Linked DNA regions of Homo sapiens: region 2 is linked to region 1. The links are contacts of gene promoters, found by promoter capture Hi-C in blood cells and fetal thymus (Javierre and others, 2016). All regions are on one chromosome and are shown on one strand. Each heading gives the region's core, a stretch centred on a gene start or on the middle of the fragment in contact. The rest is flanking DNA. Distances are from core to core; before and after follow the strand shown. Region 1 holds the start of PHF13 (PHD finger protein 13). Region 2 overlaps NOL9 (nucleolar protein 9).

The links. The method cuts DNA at HindIII sites, captures the fragments that hold promoters and counts their contacts. A CHiCAGO score of 5 or more calls a contact.
Region 2: a fragment that was not itself captured here is called in contact with the fragment with the promoter of PHF13 in region 1 in 3 of 17 cell types (neutrophils, naive CD4 T cells and erythroblasts); the score reaches 6.0 in neutrophils.

What each region holds. Positions count from the first base shown.
Region 1 is chr1:6,610,836-6,617,069 of GRCh38, reverse strand. PHF13 (PHD finger protein 13) reads right to left here and starts at 3,339. Exons shown (of 4, transcript NM_153812.3): 1 at 2,965-3,339; 2 at 212-313. The coding sequence starts at 3,003. LOC107984913 (a long non-coding RNA gene) reads left to right here and starts at 3,683. Exons shown (of 2, transcript XR_001737882.3): 1 at 3,683-4,378. RefSeq lists silencers at 2,151-2,610, 2,751-2,840, 3,011-3,790, 3,841-3,890. The HindIII fragment of the contact is 6,383 bases long and covers 1,238-6,234 here.
Region 2 is chr1:6,521,148-6,527,381 of GRCh38, reverse strand. NOL9 (nucleolar protein 9) reads left to right here. Exons shown (of 12, transcript NM_024654.5): 11 at 553-686; 12 at 1,379-6,035. The coding sequence ends at 1,528. Among named protein-coding and RNA genes, the nearest start is that of NOL9, 30 kb to the left of the region's middle. The HindIII fragment of the contact is 4,167 bases long and covers 1,574-5,740 here.

The DNA of each region.
Region 1 (6,234 bases), core at 2,090-4,589:
ACCAGAGTTTTTACCAGAGTTTTAGAACCATTTCCCCAGCTAATTCAAACTCTCAAGAAACAGATTTCTGCCAGACTAGTGACTGGGGTCACCACAAGCAGCCCCTTCCAAACCTACTGACCCTCTGACCAGTCAGAAGCCCACGAACTTGCGGTGGAGGCACTGGGTTTGACTACTCATCAAGAAAGGTCTCAGAAACTCAGAAGATTACCTCCTTCGGATAAGGGATGTAGCCAGCATAGGCCAAGACAAAGGTGCAGAATTTGTTGAAGTCTTCCACGGTCCTGCGCCTCTTGCAACTGGGGGAGTATTCCTATTAAGGGGAGAGAAAAGGGAATGTGTTTGAAGGAGAGGCTTCCAGGCGGAATCACAGAAACAAAAGGAAGTAAGCTGGAACTTTTGTAGTCAATCACTCAAAAAATACCGTTAGATTTACACAGTCCACAAACAAGATACGGTAAGTTCAGGTCAAGAAATAACACTATTTTCAGAGAGCAGAAAGAGGAGTATTAAGACTTTATGCCAAGAATGCTGGGAAATCAGCTGGGAGATAAAAACTTCTACAAAAGTCTATTTCTTAGTGCTCATGTGGCATTTTCTGACTTTATCTATTAGTTTCCACAGGCCTATCAGGCGAAGCTCTAATAACTACTTTTTTGCTACAGATTTTCCATTCTGAGTATGAACTGCTGCAGCAGCAGCTGGAACTGATGTATGTTAAGTGATTTCAAAAATCAACCACTCGCCGGGCGCGGTGGCTCTCGTCTGTAATCCCAGCACTTTGGGAGGCCGAGGCGGGCGGATCACGAGGTCAGGAGTTCGAGACCAGCCTGACCAACATGGTGAAACCCCGTCTCTACTAAAAATACAAAAATTAGCCGGGCGTGGTGGCGTGCACCTGTAGTCCCAACTACTCAGGAGGCTGAGGCAGGAGAATCGCGTGAACCCGGAGGCGGAGGTTACAGTGAGCCAAGATCGCGCCACTGCACTCCAGCCCGGTAGACAGAGCTAAGATTCCAACTCAAAAAAAAAAAAAAAAAAAAATCAACCACTCATTCTCCAGAGCTCTCGGAGACCTGGACCCTGGAGTTCACTCCTGGCTGACCCTGCCAAGCTAGCGCCACCTGAGGACCCCTCTCTCGTGCTCAGAGGGTCCCCTCCACTGTCCCAGCCAGTCGGGATGCCAGGCACCCAACTATCTCAACTCACAATAAACCAAGAACCTTACTGCGAAGCTTAGTCTTACATTTAAACGGAATAGTGGAGGTTTTTGCTCGCGGGTCCCAGCCCCATTCCATCTAGAAACACCCATCACAAAAAGATATTTTCTCCTGAGAGAAGCACGGAGAGATGGAGCTCTTATTTGCTCCTAAGCAAAACAAGTGTGCCGTATTGCTGTTTATTCGCCCGGCACGTTCCCTGAGGTTCCTTTCAGTGCCTTGTCCGACCCACCCCCATCCTTCCCGAGGTGCTGTTACCCGGCCGCCACTCTGCTGGGGGAGAGCCGGTGGGGAAATGGGGGGCAGGGGTCTCGGGCCGCCCCTCCCGCCGCGAGGAGCAGGCGTGCGGCCCGCGGGTTTTCTTTCGAGAAAGTCGGTGCCCTTAGAAAATTATTTTCTCAACCTGGTTCAAGCAAACCTTCTCCTCTCCCACCCCCTTGGACCCCAGGGCCGCCCACGGAGCGGAGGCGAAGGCCCGCGTTGACCGCGCTCCCCGCACTGGCGAGCCTGCCCAGCCACGGGAACCGCGGGCCGCCACCCGGGCCTCCAACTCCCGCGAAGAACTTTTCTTTCGGCGGGGAACCAGCAGAAGTGGGTCAAAAACCCGAATGCCAAGTGGAGGGCGGCGACGGCCTCGGGCCGGGGGCGCGCGGGAGGCACCGGCGCGGGGACTGGGGGTTCCACGCCGCCCCCACACGGCCCACGCCGCCCGCCCCCCCGGCCGCCTCCTCGGAAAGCAGATGGCGGAGCGGCCCCCACCCGCCCTCCCGCGGCAGCCGCCCCCCGCGACACTCGGCCCCCGAAGGTGCGGGGCCCATCCCGCGAGTATGTGTGAGGGGGGTGCGCCAGGCAGGATTCCGGGGTCCCAGGCCTGGGGAGGCCCTGCGAACCCCCGGGGGCGGCAGCGAGACCGGCGGGCTCCGGCGCCGCCTCCCCTCCCCCACCCGCCCGCGGTCGCCGGACCCGCACCCCCGACCCCAACGAGCCTCGGCTGGGGGGAGGGGACCGCGCGGGGGGGAGGCCGGGAGCCCCGAGGGCCGATCCCCGGAAGGAGGGGGAGTGAGCCGGGGCGGAGCCAGCAAAGCCCGCGGGCGGGGGGCGGGGGCCCGAAGAGAGAGGCCAGCGCGCCGGGGGGCGGTGGGTGGGGGCAGGACTCGGGTCCCCAGAGCGGGTGGGGCCCCCGGAGGACGCGGCCCCCGAGAGCCGTAGGGGGCGGGGGCCGACTGGGCCCCGCGCGGAGTCAGGGGGCGGGGCGCGGGCCACCGGGCCCGGGGGATCGGGGGAGCAGCCGGGGGCCTCGGGAGCCGACCCCGGTCCGAGGGGGGCCTAAAACTCCTCGAGAGCAACCGGAGCCAGGGGCGGGCGGCGGCTCGGACCGCGTCCCCGGGGGCGGGGAAAGAGTAAGCAGGCCGGCGGGGAGGGGCTGGGGGCGCCGACAGGTCCCAGGTCGACGCGAGGCCGGAGAGGGGCGGCCCGGGGGAGAGAAATAGGCGCAACGGCCCTGGGGAAAGGGCGCGGGGAGGACGCGGAGGTCCGCGGAGGGGACGCGGAGGCGAGGCCCGGCGGAGAGGACCGAGCGCGGGCCCGAGCAGGGGGCGGGGGTTGGGCTCCCGGGGGGGCCGACGAGGGGAAAGCGGGGGAAGGGGAGGGCGGCGCTCCGGGCGACCGGGGGTCTGGCTGCCTGAGGACGGCAGGATCGCGGAGGGGGTGGTCGGGGGCGATTCGGACGCACAGCTTCACTCACCTCCGGGTGGAAGGCGGCGGCGCAAGAGTCAGAGTCCATGTTCCGGGCGGGGGGCGGCGGCGGCTGCGAGAGTGCAGGAGCTGGGATGCTGGAGCGGGGCCGCCCGGGGCTGGGGGCTCGGGCGGCTGCGCAGGGCGAGGGCGGACCCGGGAGGGGTCGCCCGGGCTGGAGGTGATGGGGGGCTCAGCGCGTCGCTTCTCAAGCTCTGTGACCCCGGACTGGCGGTTCCACCGCCGACCGGAGTGGACGATGCAGCTCCCGCGGCGGTAGAGGCGGGAGAGTGGCTGCAGGGGGCGGCGGCGGCGGCGGTGAGCGGGAACCCGACCGGCTCCCCGACCTGACGCCCAGTTCGGCTCGTGTCTCGGGAGGGAGGGCGGGAGAGCCGGGAGGCCTGTCGGGAAATGTAGTCTGGGTGGCGACTGGAAGCCAGCGGCGAGGGGGCGTGGCGCGGGAGGCGGGCGCGGTGCCTTGTGGGAGTGGTAGTCCAAGGCCCCGCCAATACTGCGCACAAAGGAAACCTTGGGGACTCCAACCCCCATGAGGCTCCGCGGCGGCGGCCCCGGTGTGTGGAGGCGGGTCTTCTGGACTCGAGGCCGCGCGAGCGGGGGAGGTGCGGGGGCCCGCGCCGGCTCGGCCGCGGGGGGAGGGGCAGTGTGAGCGGTAGCGCCTTGGTCTCGGCGGGCGCGGGGGCGGGAGTCGCTGCGGCGGTGGGGGCGGGGCTGACGGCCCGGGTTGCGAAGGGCGGCGGCGGCTGGCACCTACCCTTCCTCGTCTCCTACTTGGGGTTCGCGCCCCTTTGTGGGGCGGGGGTCCCCGAGGCCTGGCCGGGAGTAGGGGCGGCAGGGGCGGGGACGCTGACGTCGCGGCCGCCCCGGGCATCGCTCCCCGCTCCCCGCTCCCCGCTGAGGGCGGAGTCGCCGCCCGGCCCCCGCTCCAGGCCGGGCTCAGCGAAGTTGTTTTCGCGGCTGCGGGCTTCGTGCGGCTCCCTGCTCCGGGCCCGCGGGGCCGGGACTGGACCGGGCTCTTCTCTAGGCATCTGCGGGATTCACTCGAGGTGGCCGGGTTCGTGCATTAAAAACACCGGGCCAGCGTTGTCAGTGTTCTAAAGAGGTGTGCGTTCAGTTTGCTTTCTGTTGCCGCCTAAGCCTAACCTTGGGACCGGCCGTTTTCCCACTCTCCTGAATATCCTCCGGCCCGCAGGGCGAGGCGGAGACGCGGTGTTTGGCGCTGGCATCGACTGGTACTTGTTTAGTGGTGTTTAACTGGGATGGGCAGTGTGTAAACGCTGGACCGCAGAGTATCCGACAGCTGTACGTGTGGAAGGCTGGCCGGACACGGTGGGGACTGCCCCTATGCGGTGACCAAAAGGCGGTCTGACGGGAACATTTTTAATATTCGAAAGTGGGGGAAAAAGGTAAGTACAAAACGCAGATGATTCAGTAACCTGTTTGGTAGCTTCGAAGAAGTTAAAGGGGAGTGACACAAAATTGAAAATTCAAATTAGAAAACGAACTCTTGGAGATACTAGTAAGATATTTGACAGGCGCCGAATGCTCCATCAAGCTGGCTGTTGCTATTTCAAGGGTTATGATCATTCTGATGAAGATATTTAATAGTTAGGAGATGGTGTTAATCTTAGAAATACTTCTCTGAGCGGCCGGGCGCGGTGGCTCGCGCCTGTATTCCCAGCACTTTGGGAGGCCGAGGCGGGTGGATCACGAGGTCAGGAGTTCGAAACCAGCCTGACCAACATGGTGAAACCCCGTCTTTACTAAAAATACAAAAATTAGATGGGCGTGGTGGCGGACACCTGTAATCCCAGCTACTCGGGAGGCTGAGGCGGGAGAATTGCTTGAACCCGGGAGGCGGAGCTTGCAGTGAGCCGAGATCGTGCCACTGCACTCCAGCCTGGGCGACAGAGCGAGACTCTGTCTCAAAAAAAAAAAAAAAAATACTTCTCTGAGCCTCAGTTTCCTAAGCTGTTAAATTTTAGCGTAGTGCCTGGCTAAATAAATGGTAGCTTACTGTTGTTGTTGTTGTTGTTGTTTTATTATTTCTGCAATATTGTAGCCCATTGGAGGGCTTCCCAAAGGTGATAAATTGAGGTACTTTACAAGATAAAACATGAAATTACTGATTAAAACAGAGACATTGGACTTGGCCCATCGAGACTTGATTAACAACTTCTTATACAATTGCACAGATGATTTAGCCAGATTTGGAATGTTACCTGGTTACTGTGACCAAAGCAGATGCCCCGAAGTTAGCCTGTATTGCCCAAGGTCATATTCACAAGGAGCAACTCGTTTTGCCAGAATAAGAAACACTGCTAAGGTGTTGATCCCGTTGGTAGTTTAAAAATGTAAATACCAAAAAGAATAATTCTTTTTTTTTTTGGAGACAGAATCTCCCTCTGTCGCCAGGCTGGAGTACAGTGGCGCCATCTCAGCTCACTGCAACCTCCACCTCCCGGGTTCAAGCGATTCTCCTGCCTCAGCCTCCCAAGTAGCCTGGACTACCAGCGCCCACCACCACGCCCAGCTAGTTTTTGTATTTTTAGTACAGACAGGGTTTCACCATGTTGGCCAGATGGTCTTGATCTCTTGACCTCGTGATCCGCACACCTAGGCCTCCCAAAGTGCAGGGATTACAGGCGTGAGCCACCGCGCCTGGCCAAGAATAATTATTAGAGGTGAAACCCAAGTGAAAGAAGAGGGATTTTTTTTTTTACACCTCATTATTATCCCCTGTGGTAAATGTGTCACATAATAAACATTAAATCCTTTCCCACACACACACATATTAAGAAATTATCGGGCCAGGCACGGTGGCTCACACCTGTAATCCTAGCACTTTGGGAGGCCGAGGCAGGCAGATCACCTGAGGTCAGGAGTTCGAGACCAGCCTGACCGACATGGGTCAGGGAGGTGGAGGTTGCAGTGAGCCGAGATCACGCCATTGCACTCCAGCCTGGGCAACAAGAGCGAAACTCCATCTCAAAAAAAGAAAGAATGGCCACCCGCCTCAGCCTCCCCCAAAGTGCTGGGATTAACAGGCGTGAGCCACCATGCCAGGCCTAATTTTTTTTTTTTTAAGACAGGGTCTCCGTATGTTGCCAAGGCTGTTCTGGAACTCCTGGGCTCAAGGGATCCTCCCACCCAGGCCTCCCAAATTGTAGAGTTTACAGTCCTGAGCTATCTTGCCTGCCTGGAGTGAATACCCACTCTGAGCAAAAGTTATCACTTGAGTCTGAAAATCTGTCCCCTGACT
Region 2 (6,234 bases), core at 2,408-4,907, 90 kb after region 1:
CCACCGCAGCTGGCCCAATCTAGGACTTTTGCATGTAGACCATTTTTGTTCCTCGTGGCTGAACACAGGGAAGGTACGAACTGCCCCAGTGTTCAAGGACTCCATCTCTTGACTCTTTGTATTTTTTTTTTTTTTTTGAGACAGTCTCACTCTGTCACCCAGGCTGGAGTACAGTGGCGCCATCTCGGCTCACTGCAAGCTCCACCTCCCGGGTTCAAGCTATTCTCCTGTCTCGGCCTCCCGAGTAGCTGGGACTACAGGCGCCCACCACTACGCCCGGCTAATTTTTTGTATTGTTAGTAGAGACAGGGTTTCACTGTGTTGCCCAAGCTGGTCTCGAACTCCTGATCTCAGGTAGTCCACCCGCCTCGGCCTCCCAGAGTGCTGGGATTACAGGCGTGAGCCACTGCACCTGGCCAGCTCTTTGTATTTTCAAAACAAAACAGAGTTGATATAAAGACTTATGTTCAAAACCATTCTGCAGTTTCTAACGATGGAGAAGTTTGATGTTTTCCAAAAGGGTGATTTTTGTGTTGTGCGCGTGTCTTGAAGGCATCTGTAGAGGCATTGACATGGAGAAGCGGCTGTACCACATCCTCACCCCTGTGCCCCCGGAAGAGCTAAGGACCGTGAATTGTCTGCTCGTTGGAGCTATTGCCATTCCACATTGTGTCCTTAAGTGCCAGGTGAGCCTTCCCCCGGGCACAGCCCTGGAAGGAGCCTACTCAGGTCCACAGAAGTGAGGAGCTGAAGTAGGGTCAGGGGTCATGGGAATGGGTGATCTGGGAAACCTATACTTTGTTGTAGATCCTGAGTGAGCCGAGACGGTGTCAGGGCCGCCTCCAAGGCCTGAGACTATGAATCACTGTCCCTCGTGGTGTCAGTGTCGCGATCTGGGCTCACTGCAACCCGTGGTGGAGCCTTTACATAGGAGTAGGTTGTGTTGGAGCAAGCAGAGGCCCTCCCAGGTTTGCCCTCCTGAGGACAGTCTTCAGAGGCATCACGGGACCAGGTCAAGGCGTCTGTGTGCCCCAGAGCCAGCCACAGGGACTGCGAGTGGGCTCTGGGAACGGGGGATATTCCTACCATTCTCATCCTCCAGTGTCCCTCATTTGAAAGGGACGCACACTGCACCCCCACTCTGCCTCACGCTGTTTGCTGTGTTGATGGAATGGGACAGAAGGGAGGCCTTGGCACGTTTGTTACCGAGCCAGTTGATTAAAGGGGGCTCTGAAGGAAGGGATCAAATGCCTTAAAAGTGAGAAGTCCCCACCCAGACCATCACCATGACACTGCCTTCTAGGTGTGAGAGAGCACTGTAAACCCCTCTGGGCTGGACCTGGAGTGTTTCCATGCATTCTCTGTGTTTCCGTTTCAGCGTGGGATCGAAGGGACAGTACCTTATGTCACAACGGATTACAATTTTAAACTTCCTGGAGCATCAGAGAAAATTGGAGCAAGAGAACCTGAGGAGGCACATAAAGAGAAACCATACCGAAGACCTAAGTTCTGTCGAAAAATGAAGTGATGCTCGCGTTTTTAATAAGGGAAGAAACTTTCCTACCAGAAAGCTTTGTCTCAAGCCTGACCACAAGAGACATGATGGAGTTTCATGGCCATGAATGGTGCCCTTATTAGCAACAGTGTTTTTTGTGTAATTCGTGAATGTCATATAGTAGTCTTAAGTTTCTCTTTTAAAGCTGCATGAGCTAGAATTTGTTCTAGTCTTCTGTGTGATACTCATACTTGCTGTCCAGAGGGAGTAAAACAGCAGAGAACAGTTTGTGTGCCATTAAAACAGAGATTCCTCAGAAAGTTCTTCAGGGACCTGGTTATTAGAATCAGGATAAAAATAAGGAAACTGGGGCCATTACAATGTACCGAGAAGGAAGGAAGAAGGCCGACCTGCAGGATCTCAAGCATAATGGATACAAGGGCTCGCCACGGGCCTTGCCTGAGCCATGTGCAGAGCTGGGGTCCAGCGGTCTGCTTCCTTGGAGCCAGTGTGGATGGTTACAGCCCATCCATTTGGTGCAGTTGTACTTGGTCTGTTATATTCAATCAAGGTTTAATAGATAGGGCTGGGCATGGTGGCTCATGCACACCTGTAATCCTAGCACTTTGGGAGGCTGAGGCGGGAGGATTGCTTGAGCCTCGGAGTTCCAGGCTGGAGTACACCAACTACTCCAGCCTGAGCGACAGAGTAAGACCTTATCTTTTAAAAAAGAAAAGAAAAATTTAAACGGGTTTGATAGATATAAATTTGGACCCAAGAGCCCTTCCTTTTTTTTAATCCTGAGGTTTTATGCTGAGGAAATTTCTTTCAAATCTGGAAAACCTCGGGGCCAGGCGCAGTGGCTCACGCCTGTAATTCCAGCACTTTGGGAGGCCAAGGCAGGCGGTTCACGAGGTCAGGAGATTGAGACCATCCTGGCTAACACAGTGAAACTCCGTCTCTACTAAAAATACAAAAAACTAGCTGGGCGTGGTGGTGGGCGCCTATAGTCCCAGCTACTCAGGAGGCTGAGGCAGGAGAATGGCATGAACCCAGGAGGCGGAGCTTGCAGTGAGCCGAGGTCACGCCACTGCACTCCAGCCTGGGCAACAAGAGCAAGACTCCATCTCAAAAAAAAAAAATAATAATCTGGAAAACCTCTTCTGGGGGCTCTTATAAAAGTAGATTTGTCCAAATTGACTTCTGATCTGAGGCCAGAGACAACCACAGGGCAGAGCTGGAGACTGGGCTGTTTTGAAGGAAGAAGGACTGGCAGACCAGCTCTTGGGAAAGCTCCATTATTGCCTGTGGGAGGCTGGACCTGAACTTGCACCTATGAACAACCCTGCCATTTAGAGCTTTTTCCTGGGGGTGCCGGCGGCTGGTGACCAGACTGCCATTCTCCACGTTCTCCCTGGTGCTTCCGACTCTGTCCTCTAGGTTGGAAGTGGTTTGTGTAAACGGGTGATGGGACCAGGTCACATCATTTCTGCATTTAAGACAGCAGGATACTTCCTGGGGCTGAGGTTCAAACTGGTATTGTGACCACCGCTTTGACAGAATTCCATCTTCCCAGCATGATCACATTGTAAGACTATTAGGATGTGTGGGTTTTAACACTTATATACACTTATACAACTGTTGGTTATCATTGTCTTTAGTATTTTACAGTGGCCCCTCAGCACCTCTTAGACCCAACAGCAAAGGACTTAAAATAAGCACAGGAAACCTTGCTATGGTGATTAGTTTTGATACCTTTGAGACAATTGAGTCTAGCTTCTTAGTTGCCCCTTATTTATGTTGAAATCTGGCTCATTCATATGATGTTTTACTGTGCTGGCCTTGTAAAGAATTTTAAGACAATCCATCACCATCAATGTTTTGCCTTTCTCCACTTTCGTGTATCTTACAGTTATACTCACTGGAGGTCATTTGCAGCAAGGCTCTGGAAGAATGAAACTGGTGCCCTGTAATTGCATTTGCATTCAATCTAGGTTTGCCTTCAGGCTTTAAATGCGGCCTGTATGAAGGTCAAGTCTTTTTCTTCAGTCCCTATCAGTAAAGAAAAATCGTTGCCTCTAGAGGGAGCTATCAGCTGTGGGTCAGGTGGCCGTACTGGGGCTAGAGTTGGCCCAGGAAGCTGTACAGGGTTTAGGGAAGGAGGTTCGGAGACAGGGAGCCAAGGCCTCTGTCAGGTCTAGCTTGTGCCGGTCAGACCTGCAGCAGCACCATTCTCCAGGATGACAATTCATCCCATTATTGATGGCAGTGGCCTTTTTATCCTTTTTTTTTTTTTTTTTTTTTTTTGAGATGGAGTTTCGCTCTTGTTGCCCAGGCTGGAGTGCAGTGGCGCAATCTGGGCTCACTGCCACCTCCGCCTCCCGGGTTCAAGTGATTCTCTTGCCTCAACCTCCCGAGTAGCTGGGATTACAGGCATGCGCCACCATGCCTGGCTGATTTTCTATTTTTAGTAGAGAAGGGGTTTCACCATGTTGGCCAGGCTGGTTTTGAACTCCTGTCCTCAGGTGATCCACCTGCCTTGGCCTCCCAAAGTGTTGGGATTACAGGCATGAGCCACCGCACCCGGCTGGTGGCAGTGGCTTTAAGGGCATTTAGAAGAAGGACAAGATTGGACTTTTTATCATTTCCACAGTCTGTTATGGGTCAGATTAGGTAGTAAGGAGTTCTCCATTGGAGCTATTCTTTTTTTTTTTTCTTTTTTTTTGAGACAGAGTCTCGCTCTGTCACCCAGGCTGGGGTGCAGTGGCACGACCTTGGCTCACTACAGCCTCTCCCCTCCCGGGTTCAAGTGATTCTTCTGCCCCAGCCTCCCAAGTAGCTGGGATTACAGGTGAGCGCCACCATGCCTGGCTAATTTTTATATTTTTAGTAGAGATAGGGTTTCACCGTATTGGCTAGGCTGGTCTCGATCTCCTGACCTTGTGATCCGCTTGCCTCGGCCTCCCAAAGTGCTGAAGCAATTTCTTTTTTTTTTTTTTTTTTGAGACAGAGTCTAGCTCTGTCGCCCAGGCTGGGGTGCAGTGGAGTGATCTCGGCTCACTGCAACTTCCGCCTCCCAGGTTTAAGCGATTCTCCTGCCTCAGCCTCCTGAGTAGCTGGGATTACAGGCGTATGCCACCACGCCCAGCTAATTTTTGTATTTTTAGTAGAGACAGGGTTTCACCATGTTGGTCAGGCTGGTCTCGAACTCCTGACCTCGTGATCCGCCCGCCTTGGCCTCCGAAAGTGCTGGGATTACAGGCGTGAGCCACTGCGCCTGGCCTGAAGCTATTCTTTACAAAAGCTCTTAGTTTTTGTTTGTTTGTTTGTTTTTTTCTTTTGCGACGGACTCTCTGTCGCCAAGGCTGGAGTGCAGTGGCCTGATCTCAGGTCACTGCAACCTCTGCCTCCTGGGTTCAAGCGATTCTCCTGCTTCAGCCTCCCAAGTAGCTGGGATTACAGGCGCCTGCCACCACACCCAGCTAATTTTTGTATTTTTAGTAGAGATGGCGTTTCACTTTATTGGTCAGGCTGGTCTCGAACTTCCAACCTCAGGGGATCCGCCTGCCTTGGCCTCCCAAGGTGTTGGGATTACAGGCATAAGACACTGTGCCTGGGCCTCTTAGTAATTTTTGTATGTAATTTTCAAAGTATCCGGGATTACAGGCGCCCGCCACTACACTAGCTAATTTTTTTTGTATTTTTAGTAGAGATGGGGTTTTACTATGTTGGCTAGGCTGGTCTCGAGCTCCTGACCTCGTGATCCGTCCACCTTGGCCTCCCAAAGTGCTGGGATTACAGGCGTGAGCCACCGCGCCCGGCCTAGGTCATTTGTTTTTGGGTTTGGATGGCAAGATCATGGATAAGACAGCAGGCTTTGATTATAGAGCTCTGAGTTCAAATCCTGGCTCTACCACTTGTCAGTGGTGTAACTTGGAGGAAGATGCTTAGCCTGAGCCTGTTTTATGTTTTGAAGATTGGGTAATTGTCCTTCCTTCAGTGTTCCTGGGTGAGGAGTAAGTGAAGTCATGTCTATAAGAGATGTAGCACAGTCTCCGGCATGTAGAAACGGTCAGTAACTCCTAGTGTGTAGCTAGCCTCTGATGAGATGGTAAACTCAGGAGGCTGGCACCACGGCTGTGCTACTCACGGTCATGCTGGAGGGATGCAGAAACTAAATGAATCCACAGCTACTTACTCATCTTGCCTCTGGCAGGTTCACCTTAAAATTGTTGCTACCAAGCTTCCTGTGGTCAAAGAGCCCTTGAGGAAGCAAGCTCCACGGCCACCATAGATAACCCATTCCTGAAAGTTTTTCATAAACCCCCACTTGTTGCTTTTAAAATTTTATAAGCAGCTTACACATGTAGAAAATGATCCTCCAGCCCACCACCACATAGTAATCACTGACACTGTGAGGTGTCTCAGCTGGGGTTCTGCTGTGTGTGTGTGTATTTTACAAAATATGTATGGTTTCTGTTCAGCTCTTTTCAGTTAACAGATGAACTTTTGTATCATTAAATATTTTTGAAAACATGAATTTAGTTGTGTAATTTTATGTAGATAGGTCATTTTATTCCAGGTAATCACTTAAATGCTTAGAAGAAACTATAGTGAAAAAACACTGGGAGGAAAAAAAATGTTGAAAGGCGGTTAATGAAGTGTGGAGACTCCAGCAAATGCTTGTGATGTGTTTGTTTGTTTGTTTTGTTGTGCCCTTTTTTTTCTTTTTGAGACAG